Linked DNA regions of Homo sapiens: regions 2 and 3 are each linked to region 1. The links are contacts of gene promoters, found by promoter capture Hi-C in blood cells and fetal thymus (Javierre and others, 2016). All regions are on one chromosome and are shown on one strand. Each heading gives the region's core, a stretch centred on a gene start or on the middle of the fragment in contact. The rest is flanking DNA. Distances are from core to core; before and after follow the strand shown. Region 1 holds the start of CWC22 (CWC22 spliceosome associated protein). Region 2 overlaps NUP35 (nucleoporin 35). Region 3 holds the start of NCKAP1 (NCK associated protein 1).

What was found. Contacts are between HindIII fragments. The CHiCAGO score rates a contact against its expected background, and 5 or more counts as called.
Region 2: a fragment that was not itself captured here is called in contact with the fragment with the promoter of CWC22 in region 1 in 3 of 17 cell types (non-activated CD4 T cells, naive CD8 T cells and total CD4 T cells); the score reaches 11.4 in non-activated CD4 T cells.
Region 3: a contact is called between the fragment with the promoter of NCKAP1 here and the fragment with the promoter of CWC22 in region 1, in 2 of 17 cell types (non-activated CD4 T cells and total CD4 T cells). The highest score is 7.1, in non-activated CD4 T cells.

What each region holds. Positions count from the first base shown.
Region 1 is chr2:180,005,255-180,009,027 of GRCh38, reverse strand. It overlaps CWC22 (CWC22 spliceosome associated protein), which reads left to right and starts at 1,731. Exons shown (of 20, transcript NM_020943.3): 1 at 1,731-2,161. RefSeq lists an enhancer at 2,051-2,583. The HindIII fragment of the contact is 3,569 bases long and covers 338-3,773 here.
Region 2 is chr2:183,128,592-183,132,364 of GRCh38, reverse strand. It overlaps NUP35 (nucleoporin 35), which reads right to left. Exons shown (of 9, transcript NM_138285.5): 3 at 1,820-1,947. Among named protein-coding and RNA genes, the nearest start is that of NUP35, 6.0 kb to the right of the region's middle. The HindIII fragment of the contact is 3,097 bases long and covers 451-3,547 here.
Region 3 is chr2:183,036,749-183,040,521 of GRCh38, reverse strand. It overlaps NCKAP1 (NCK associated protein 1), which reads left to right and starts at 2,065. Exons shown (of 31, transcript NM_013436.5): 1 at 2,065-2,530. The coding sequence starts at 2,423. RefSeq lists silencers at 1,492-2,143, 1,876-2,465, 2,526-2,645. The HindIII fragment of the contact is 8,317 bases long and covers 1-3,773 here.

The DNA of each region.
Region 1 (3,773 bases), core at 482-2,981:
TCCAGCTCCATCTAGTTCTCCTCTGCTCAACCCTAACTTTCCTATTTCTGTTGATAGTTGTAGAGGTAGTATATTCATCAGGGTTCCCTAGAGGGACAGAACTAATAGGATATAGATAGATAGATAGATAGATAGATAGATAGATAGATAGATACACACACACGCACACACACACGTATATATATCCTATTACATATATATCCTATTTTTTATATATATCCTTATATATATATCCTAATATATATATCTATATATAAGGATATATATATAAAAAGGGGAGTTTATTAAGTATTAACTTACACAATCACAAGGTCCCACAATAGGCTGTCTGCAAGCTTGAGGAGCAAGGAGAGCCAGTCTGAGTCTCACAACTGAAGAATTTGGAGTCCAATGTTTGAGGGCAGGAAGCATCCAGCATGGGAGAAAGATATAGGCTGGGAGGCTAGGCCAGTCTTGCCTTTTCATATTTTTCTGCCTGCTTTATATTCGATGGTAGCTGATTAGATTGTTCCCACCAGATTAAGGGTGAGTCTGTCTTCCCCAGTCCACTGACTCAACTGTTAATCTCCTTTGGCAACACCCTCACAGATACACCCAGGATCAATACTTTGCATCCTTCAATCCAATCAAGTTGACATTCAGAATTAACCATCACCGGTAGTATTGTGGGTTTTTAAATATATGAATACAAATGTTCATCTCCAGATCCATCTCCTGTGCCCTGTATTGGTGCACCAAAATGCACCATCAACAATGGCCAAATATCTTAAATATGAAATAAAATAGATAACACTATTGTATACTAGCAATTATCTTAAATGCATCTTGTGTATCAACTAATTCAATTCTTAAAACTACTGCCTGGATGGATACTATTGGTATTTCCATTTAACAGATCAGGAAACGGCCACAGAATGTGAAGTTACTTGCCCCAGTCATCCATAAATAATAAAAGGACTCAAGATTCAAAATAAGTAGTCCAACTGCAGTGTTTTTATTCTTAATCATCACACTCTGCCTCCAGAAAGGAGTGGAAGCACAGCACCCTAAAACTGTAATAGAGAAGTGTGTGGAGAAACCAGTCCTGGTTTATGAAAGATTTGATAACATAAAGATATTCTTGGTTTAGGAAGAGAGTTTCCAAAATAGCAAGTAGTTGAACTTTTAGGTTTTGTTACTAGTGAAAAGTGAAGTTTAAAGAAACTGTTTGATGCCCTAGTTCTGCACGCTGTACAAACTGCTACTTCCTACTCAGCCAGGCAATCTCTTTATTCTCAGGTCATACCAGTTGGTACCTTAACCTAAAAGAGAGGCAACACAGTCTCTATAGAATTAGTTTTTCCTCATTATTTCACTCTATTTATGATTTAATATTCTCCCATTCTTATGGCCTGGATATCTTGGAATTTATTAGGCACTTAACTGTTGGTCAAACTCTTATAAAGTCTCAGGAAAATCTCTCTCTTAAGATTTTTCAAGGAAAGTGACAACTGACTGCTTTTTTAAAAAAAATTTCCCCAAAATGCAGTGAAATAGTTTTAAAGTAAATTCGGCTAGACCCTGAACACTACTAGGCTGCCAGTGAGCAGCGTGGATGTTAACTCGCTGGCGCGCATCTGTATGAACTACAATTCCCATCGTACACCGCGCCATTTCACGCTAAACTACAATTATGCTTTCCTCATTTCCGTCAGCACAGGCGCTGGATTTCGGACTTTGTAGTTCATGCCAACTTCTCTTTTTTGTCGCCATTTTGGCAACAAGACAGTGTGCCTGGATCGACTACTTTGACTCTGGTATTATGATATGGTATTTGAAATAAATTAAAGGGATAACGTGTCAAGCCAATTGAGCGTCAAGTTTTTAAATATTTCACTATTCGCCTTCTTCCTACCGTCGGTGCTCGGGAAGAGGAAGTGACGTACGTCCGGTGTAATGGCGGCGCGGTGGAGCTCTAGGTAATTATCGAACTCCGTGGAGTCCCCGCAGGCAGAGACGCGGAGTGGGGGTGGCGGGTCGCCGGATCGGGTGGGAAGTAAAAGACCCCCAGGAGTGGGTGCGGGCTCACTGATACGGCTGTGAGCGGCATTGGAGTGTGCGTGGGTCTTCTCGCTACGCTCGGGCCCGCAAGAGGGGTGTGAGAGCGGCTAGGTCCAAGCAGGTGGGGAGGGAATGGGCTGCCATGAACTGACTGCCTGAGCGGACCGGCTGACCTTCCTTGTGAAGTTCCTGGAGCTGTCTGAAATCCTGCACCAACGCTGGTGCTGTGTTGTTTCTTGTGCACTGCGTTTTATACTTAGAGCCTCTGGAGTCCATTGGGGCTTGCCAAAGCCCCTTTCCTAGTGCCCGGGTCCCAGGGTCAGGGGAGTGGGATTAATGAGATCTAGTTGATTAAAAGTTAGTTGAATTACTTGCACTCTTATGCCTCTTGCCGGCATTATATCCCTTTGACTATTTGTTTTAAATTTCATTAGCGTCTTCTTTTTCATTTATTTGCCCTGTAAATACTGATAGTGTCTAGTGTTTAGTCTTGAAGACACTTCGCTTCTCATGTGCCCGCTTCATCTGTCATTCTTGATCCTTCCATAACTTGAACTATCTCCAGTGAGGTAATAACTGCCAAACTTGGGTCTCCAGGCTCCACCTCTCTAACGAGCTCTGGGTCCTACAACACAGCATTATATAACGGAAATATAATAGTTAATTTCACTGAGTTTAACTGCAAAAACCACGGTACCTATTTCCATTTAATCCTAACAATTCTTCTGAGGTAAGTGGAGAAGGCAGGATTTGGAGAAAGGCTATTCTAGATGCAAGAATTAGGTAAGAGTTTCCTTTGCATTTTTAGATGTGCAGAGACTCGAAATAGCAGATAAGCAAGCAAACTTGGTTCTCAGCAGATCAGTTAACCTACCTCTTATCTGTATTTAGACTTACCTTGTTTTAGGATTGCTTGTGAATTCAGGAGTTAACATAAATTATCATCCTACTATGGAAGGGCAGATTTAAAATTGACATTAAAAGTGTGGTTTTGACCAGGAGAGGAGAAGCATTGTTACAGGCGTTATCAGTAGGTGGAGGAAAGCCACTTGTGTTGGTCCTGGGTGATGGACTAGTAGACCAAAGATTTCTGTTTTATCCAGCTATTATTAGGTCTGTCACTTGGAGCAAGTTACCTAAAGTCTCTAGTGTCAGCTTCATCATCTGGAAACATGTAGGTAGTAATACAATACCTGCCTCACTGTATTGTCTTTTTTTGAGTATAAAGAAAAATAATGCAGATGAGGCACTGAGCACAGCGTTAGCGTTGTATTATTGTAAATTACTACTATGATACAGTTGATGAGTTCTCTCTGTTCCTCAATTCTTGTTCTCTGGTTCTGAATGTTGCCTTTCCACCTGTAAGTGTCCTTCCAGTTGTTTTTTGTTTTTTGTTTTGTTTTGTTTTGTTTGAGACGGAGTCTTACTCTGTCGCCCAGGCTGGAGTGCTGTGGCGCTATCTCGGCTCACTGCAAGCTCCGCCTCCCTAGTTCATGCCATTCTCCTGCCTCAGCCTCCCAAGTAGCTGGGACTAAGGTGCCCGCCACCACGCCTGGCTAATTTTTTGTATTTTTAGTAGAGACGGGGTTTCACTGTGTTAGCCAGGATGGTGTCTGTCTCCTGACCTTGTGATCCACCCGCCTCGGCCTCCCAAAGTGCTGGGATTACAGGCGTGAGCCACCGCTCCCGGCTAGTGTCCTAGTTTTAAGTGTCCATGCCACTTTAATGGAGTC
Region 2 (3,773 bases), core at 750-3,249, 3.1 Mb before region 1:
CCCAAGCTGATCTCAAACTCATGGGTTCAAGCAATCTGCCCAAAGCCCAGCACAGTGGGTCACACCTGTAATCCCAGCACTTTTGAAGGCCAAGGAAGGTGGATTACTTGAGCTCAGGAGTTCAAGACCACCCTGGGCAACAGGACAAATCCCATCTCTACAAAAAATACAAAAGTTAGCCAGGCATGGTGGTCCACATCTGTAGTCCCTGCTACTAGGGAGAAGAGGTGGGAGGATCACTTGAGCCCAGGATGTCGAGGCTACAGTGGGGCATGACCATTTCACTGCACTCTAGTCTGGGTGATAGAGCAAGACCCTGTCTCAAAAAATAATAATAATAAATAAAAATACATAAAAATCAAGCAATCCGCCCACCTCGGCCTCCCAAAGTGCTGGGATTACAGGCATGCACCAACACGCCCAGCCTTCATACCAAACTAATCATAAGCTTTACTTATCAACCTTTAGAAAACCATCCCAGACCAGGATATCTATCCATTAGGAACAATAAATTCCATACGTGTAATTTTACCATTTCTAGTAGGCACATTTTAAAAGTACAAACAGGTGAAATTTAGTAATATTTAGCCAAACACATCCAAAACATTATCATTTCAATATGTAATCAACATAAAAAAATAAGATACCTTACATTCTTTCTAAGTCTTCAAACTCTGGTGTGTATTTTATACTTAAAGTGTATCTCAATAAAGACTAGCTATATCTTTAGTATCAATAGCCACACTTAGCTAGTGGCTCCTGTTGGACAGGAAGGCAGGTCTAGAAGTGTTGGGAAGAAACAGTAATCTGTTTACCACAGTGAATGAATTTTGCTTTACTTGACAAGTAAGCCTAGTATGCCAGACATATCAAGCCTATAAATAGCACGAATCCACTGAAAAATGCTTTCTAATATTCTTGAACTCTCAACTTCACTAAATACAATTTAGGGAAAGGCATAAAACATATATCTAAAGCAAACAGCAGACATATCTTTATATAAAGAACTTACCAACTTAACTGATAAACTTTGTTTATATGTCCTACTAAGCACAATAATAATAGGAAACAACACTTGTGTCTATGAAGCTACTAAATTTTCTACTTAAAAGAAAAGTCGGCCAGGCACAGTGGCTCACATTTATAATCTAGCGCTTTGAGAGGTCAAGGTGCAAGGATCACCTGAATCCGGCAAGACCTCATCTCTACAAAAAAAAATACAATTAGCCAGGCATAGCAGCACGTGCCTATATCCCAATAGGACAGTTGAGGCAGGAGGATTGGTTGAACCCAGGAGTTCAAGGCTGCAGAGTTATGACTGTGCCGCTGCACTCTAGCCTGGGCAACTGATCAGGACCCTGTTGGGGACCCTAAAAAAAGAAGAAAATAAAGACAAGTCCATACTACTTCTCAGCTGACGAGTGCCCTAGATCTAGATGAAACTCTAAATTTTCATTTGTTCTTTCACATAATTTTTAAATATTAAATATTAAACTTCTTAAACAATCAGAATGATTTAAACCATAGTCACATTCTACATGTATATTAAGTAGGTTGGAGCTATGGGCAGGTGGATAAGGCATACCTATAAACACCTGAGAATTACCTATGAGAGAAAATCTAGAGTTCTACACTGTTAAGTACAGTTCATCATCAACACAATTTAAGTAGATTCTATGATGTGTTTAATGTTTATTCTGTGCAACACAGTTACATTAAAACAGACTTCAGGGAAACATTTCAAAGTATTGACTCTCACTGAACAGACACATAAAACCATGATGTTGTTCATTGGGGATCAAAAGGGTATTTATATTACCTGTCTTCTTGAAGTTAAAGGTGTTGATCCAAGTCCTGGGCTAGAAATGTCATCATATATACTTCTAACTGGTGGAGCGCCACTTTTATCTTTATGAGCTGGTACAACTGGTTGTGGTGGTGACCCACCTACAGTGTACAAAAAAAAAAAAAAAAAAAGGGATTCTTCTTTTTGGTAAGATTTTTTAAATTTATATTTTTGAAATACTGACTTAAAATCTTGTCTGTTAGTTCTTTTCAAACTTTAATATGCTGAACAGTCACCTGGGGACCTTGTTAAAATTCAGACTCTGATTCAGAAGGTGTAGGGTGAAGCCTGAGATTATACAGTTCTAATAAGCTCCCAGGTAATGCCAATGCTGCTGATCCATAGACTGCACTCTGAATAAAAGGATTCAGAGTAAGTAGTTAATGAAAATCTTAGTTTTCAGAAAACACATGTAACTTTTGCTCACTCTACAAAACGCTTAACATTTAAATACAAAACTTGATCCCATTTCTCACTTGAAAGTAGGTACTAAACAGCTCCAGTCTGTAGATTCCTGAATAAATACAATTCCCTATGTAGAGTTTGACTATCTAGATTAAGTAGATCCCATTCATGTTTCTCACAGTAGAAATATATTTAAGTACATAATAAAGATGTAGTAAAAGGACCAAGTTCTGTGACATAAAGATGTCTTTATCGATCAGAGAACATGCAATGTCAAATAGTGATGCAGCCCAGGCCATCGGTAAGACTAATGTCTGAGCCTGGACTGTACAGCTTAAGCTATTTAGAGCACAGTCTATGGAATAAGACTAACCTGAGGTTTATAGCGCTCGCTCACTTACTAGCAAGTGAGCTTCAGCAAATTACTTATTGCATTTAGCCTCAGTTTTCTCTTTTTAAAGATGGGGATACTATTACCTACCCTTTAAGATTGACAAAATAATGATTAGCATACTGCCAGGCTCATAAGCAATCAATATACGTTGGCTACCATAATAAAATAACACATTTGAAATTTAATGTTTAATGTTAAATGAATTACTTCAAATATAATTTATAATTCTCCCTGATAAATCCTAAATAATAAACCATTTTAAAGCAAAAATACTTTAAAGGGCAATTAAGGTAAAAAGAGTTTTCACTTGAACTACTACTAAAGGATATTAGCTCACAATTAGAATTCAACACTTCTGTATCTAATTCTCACTACTCAGTTAAAACTTCGAAGTCATTTTTTAAAGTATTTCTTTGCTAAAGGAGTTCTGTAATAAACACAGGCTGCATTTACAATACTTTGCCCTGACAATCACAAATTCTGTGTATAAAACCTCCCCCCCAAGTTTCCTTAAACACGCTATATGTGAGAATCTCAATTCACTAAGACTAAAGGCAGAATTCGTATCTACATCTTCAAGTTACACTTCTTTTGACCGATTATTTCCTATTCTTGTATCTTAAGATGAATTACTTTAAATGAATTCAGTTGAAGCTAAATGATGGTATTTCATCAACTCTGTGAGGCACTCTTCCCCCACCACACTCTGACATCTCCGACACAGAAATTTTACAAAAAATGGCATCTTAGCATTGTGTCATATTTAGGGTTATCTTTCCTAGTGGTACTTAAAAGCCAATTCAAAGGCATCTTAGAATGAAAAAAACATAGAATACATTTTAGTGGCTCTAGAAATTATAGCTTATACTTCTTACACCTCTATTCCAAGAGCCTTAAAAGCTTTGCTTTATAATAGACACATTGCTTAATTTTTTTTAATTAATGTATTGATGAGGGTGAATGCTGCACCACTACACTTTTAAAAATTCTAGCACAAGCTTGTCCCACCCATGGCTTGAACACCGCATGAAGCCCAGGATGGCTTTGAATGTTGCCCAACACAAATTGGTAAACTTTCTTAAAACATTTTAAGATTTTTTTTGCATTTTTTTTTTTTTTTAGCTCATC
Region 3 (3,773 bases), core at 816-3,315, 3.0 Mb before region 1:
TATGTTGCCAAGGCTTGTCTTGAACTTCAGGACTCAAACAATCCTCTTGCCTTGGCCTCCCAAAGTGTGGGGGTTACAGGTGTGATGGAGCTTGAGCCTAGCAGTTGAAGACCAGCCTGGACAACATAGGGAGACCCTGTCTCTACAAAAAAGTTAAAAAGTTTAAGAAAAATTCCCGTACACTTGTTCTTTTTAATGCAAAATGTAGAGAAAGACAAAAATTGTAATTCATCTACATCTAATCTCTTTTACGCAAATATATACATTTCATTACAGTCTAGGGCCAGTATGTCTATGAATTAGTGACAATAAATATTGAATAATGAGACTACTATCTACAGCGTTCTCCTATTGGGTACTTCCTGAGTTATAAGCAGCTACTAGTATTCAAGTTTATATGGCAACATGATAGTTTTTCTTGGGGAGTAAGAGTTGTGTTCAAATTTATAATACAGTGCCATTTTCTTGTTCTCCCTATACAGCAGTTTTTAAAAACTAGAAAATGAGACAATCTTTTATTGGTAGCACTCTGTAATTCTGCGTCTAGACTTAGTTATTTGTAGTCTCCCTAAAGGAGCACATATTTCCCCAATGTTCAACATTTTTAAATTTTCTTATCTGGCTACCCCAAACCCCTCCTCGCAGCCTCCCCTTCTCAGGTCTGCCCTTACTATTCCAGGCCCCACAACCTTGCCTCCTCTAAATTAAAATGTTAACTATCAGGCTGAGAAGTAACCAGATAAATTAAATTCCTTGACCAGTTAATGACTAGTAATAGCTCGACAGATGATCTCTCTGAAGTGTTTGTATTCTTAAGACTCTCTAGGTACAAAGCATTCATTCAAGGTACTGCAGCTTTGTATATAGAATTTCAGGCACACTGGCAGGTATGATTATGACTTCTTTTGGTGGGAACAGGACTCTTTTAAATGCCCCTTAGATTAAATCCATTCAGTCCACTCCTTCTTTCTTGTTGGAATATTAAAATGAAGATTTCTTTACGAATAGTAGATATAGTAGCTTTAAAAAATATTTTAAAGCTATTCATTACAATTTCCTTTTCTTAAAGAGTTTTGATAAATCCAGTGATGGCTTATTACTCTTAGAATGTCTTATTGAATGTGGCGGGACATTTTGTTACTGACTTAAAATTAATGAATATAATATAAAAAATTAACATATCGAGAAAAGGCAAAGCCAAAAATATTAGAGGCCTGAGTCCTCTTGGCTGAAGTTTCTCACCTCAATTACGTAAGTCCTCAGTTAGTTCACTTTTGGAATCATGTCTAATACATTTGACAAGGGAGTAGCCTTGGAGTGTCGCTAAGAAGAAATTGATCAGGAAAAATGAGATGGCAAAGAAGAATGTTTCCAAGAAGAAGTGGGATTTAGGGTGGAGGCTGTAAAAAAATGGGAGCGGTTCCTTTAGGCATTGAACAAACATTTATTTTTTGCCTTCCACATGCCAGGACCTACTGCGTCTCCTCCGGATGGGTGCTCCTCGCCGACAAAGTCTAGATTGTGATTATCTCAAGGACTTGAGTTACCCTCACTTCCGACCTCCTCTCTCACAAACTGGTTCCAGGCGGGGAGACTGAGGATGGGCTGGGGAGGCTGGCAGAGGCGATCCCCACCTCGCGGAGCACAACATCTGCTGTGTTCTGCGGCGAGCGCCTGTCAAGCAGTGGGAGGAAAAAGCGCTTGGAGCCACCAGCCCACTCTTAAGCGAAACTCGCCTGGAAAACACCCCGCCTCCCAGCAGAGTTTCTGCCGGTTTCTTTAGAAGGGTGGTGCGGAAAAGCAACTTTTGGGAACTTGAAGGAGTGGGGTGTGGGGCGAAGTGGAAAGAGCACACAACGCGACCCCACTCAGTCCCCGCTTGGGACTCCCATCCCGGCATCAGGCGTAGTGGGCGGTCCGGGCCAGGGCCAGGGCCAGAGCGGCGGCGGCGAGGCCATGCCGAGGGCCCGTCGGCCGCAGTTCCCCGTCCGGCCTCGCGGGGGCGCCGGCGCTGCCGATCAGGTGACCGAGGGCCCGTCCGGGGCTGCGGGAAGCGGCCTCGTTCTCAGCCGCCGGAGACGCCGCCGCCGCCGCCGCCGCCGCCACACCTAGTGGAGCAGCCGGGGAAGGCGGCTCGTTGGGGGCTGGGGCGGAGAGCGCCGGGGGTGGGGGCGGAAGGGCGGCGGGCGGAAGGCAGGAGGCTGCCGGGGCGCGGGCTGCTGCGGGAGAAGGGGCTCCGAGGAGTCCGCCGCGGCTCGCTCTGTCGCCGGCGCGGGATTGGGGCGCGAGGGCCATGGGCGCGCTCTCCTAAGGCGGAGGTCGCGGGCGGGAGGGGAGGAGGCCCGAGAGAGGCTGCTGCGAAGGCCGCGGGCCCGTGACTGGGCGCGAGGCGGCCGGCGGCGGCGGCGGCACCAGCACCACCATGTCGCGCTCAGTGCTGCAGCCCAGTCAGCAGAAGCTGGCGGAGAAGCTCACCATCCTCAACGACCGGGGCGTCGGCATGCTCACCCGCCTCTACAACATCAAGAAGGTGCGCACGGGCCGGGGAGGCCGCGGCGGAGGCGGGCGGGCCCGGGAGGGATGAAGGGCAAGGGAGGCCGTGGGGTGGGGGCGGCAGGAGGCGCCGGGTGTAGAAATCTCGGCGTCGCCGCCCGAGGCCCGGCCCGGGGTCGCCTGGATGCGCCGCGGCCTAATGCGGAGTCCCGGGCGCCTCTCCCTGTGGTTCGCCGGCCGGCCGAAGGCAGAGAAGCCATTTCCCGGCTCCCGGCGGCGGGATCGGGCGCTGGGCCTCGCACGGGGTGGGGGCGCCGCTGGGAGCCGGGAGCTGTCCCCTCCTCGGCGCCCCCGCCCCCATGATGGGGCCCATAGGAAAGGGAGGGTGGTGGGTGGGCGAAATTCTAGGTGGGTAGGAAAACTTGAGTGTTCCATATTCTTACGGAGATGGCAGCAGTGAACAGGGATTACACCCCACATCCCCATTTTTTGGTGTGGGAATGTGGGTAGAGAAGGGCTGATTGGATGAATCCCGTATCCCCTCCACTTTGCCACTTTATTTTAGATTGCTAAATAAAAAGCCATTGAGAGTGTGTTGACGATTTGGGATTATTTCATTTTGAAGGTGGAGAGGAGGGGGAAGTGAGGGTGGAACCAATTTTCTGAAATACTTCTAGGCTGTGAGTCACTAGAACTGGAATAACAACCTTCTACTCTTTCCCCTGTACTCCTCCTCATGTTAGATTTTCCAATACCATTTCTTAAAGTTCGGTGTCTGTACAAAATAAAAACCGTAAAAATGTTGCAATTGCTGCTGATTTATAGCATAGTCTGATAATTTGAGCAACTATAGCTAATAGGCCCATTTAAAGGCTTTTACATGTCCTCAGTACAGTAAGGAGTGGAAGACCACTGGAAGTTTAGAAAAGTCCATGTAAAGATAGAACAAATAATTACATTCATTATCGTAGGACAAAACAACAAAATCTCTCCCCTTAAGGCAAGGTTGGTAAGTTTTAAACAATTTGATAAAGAGAAAAAGAGATATTTGGAAAATTTAGATCCATCGAGTTTCCAATGTGTCTTTGATGTCATACCTTCATAACTATTTGTTGGCTTTTTAATATATCGTGAATGTTACCGTTTAGTTTAATCATAGCAATAGATTGTAGGTTGAGAGGGCTTCTGAAGAAAGGTTTTTTTTTTTTTCTTTGGAAATTCATTTCCAAGCGTTTGAGTGTAAAATTGATTTATTTTTTACAATTTGATGTAGACACTAA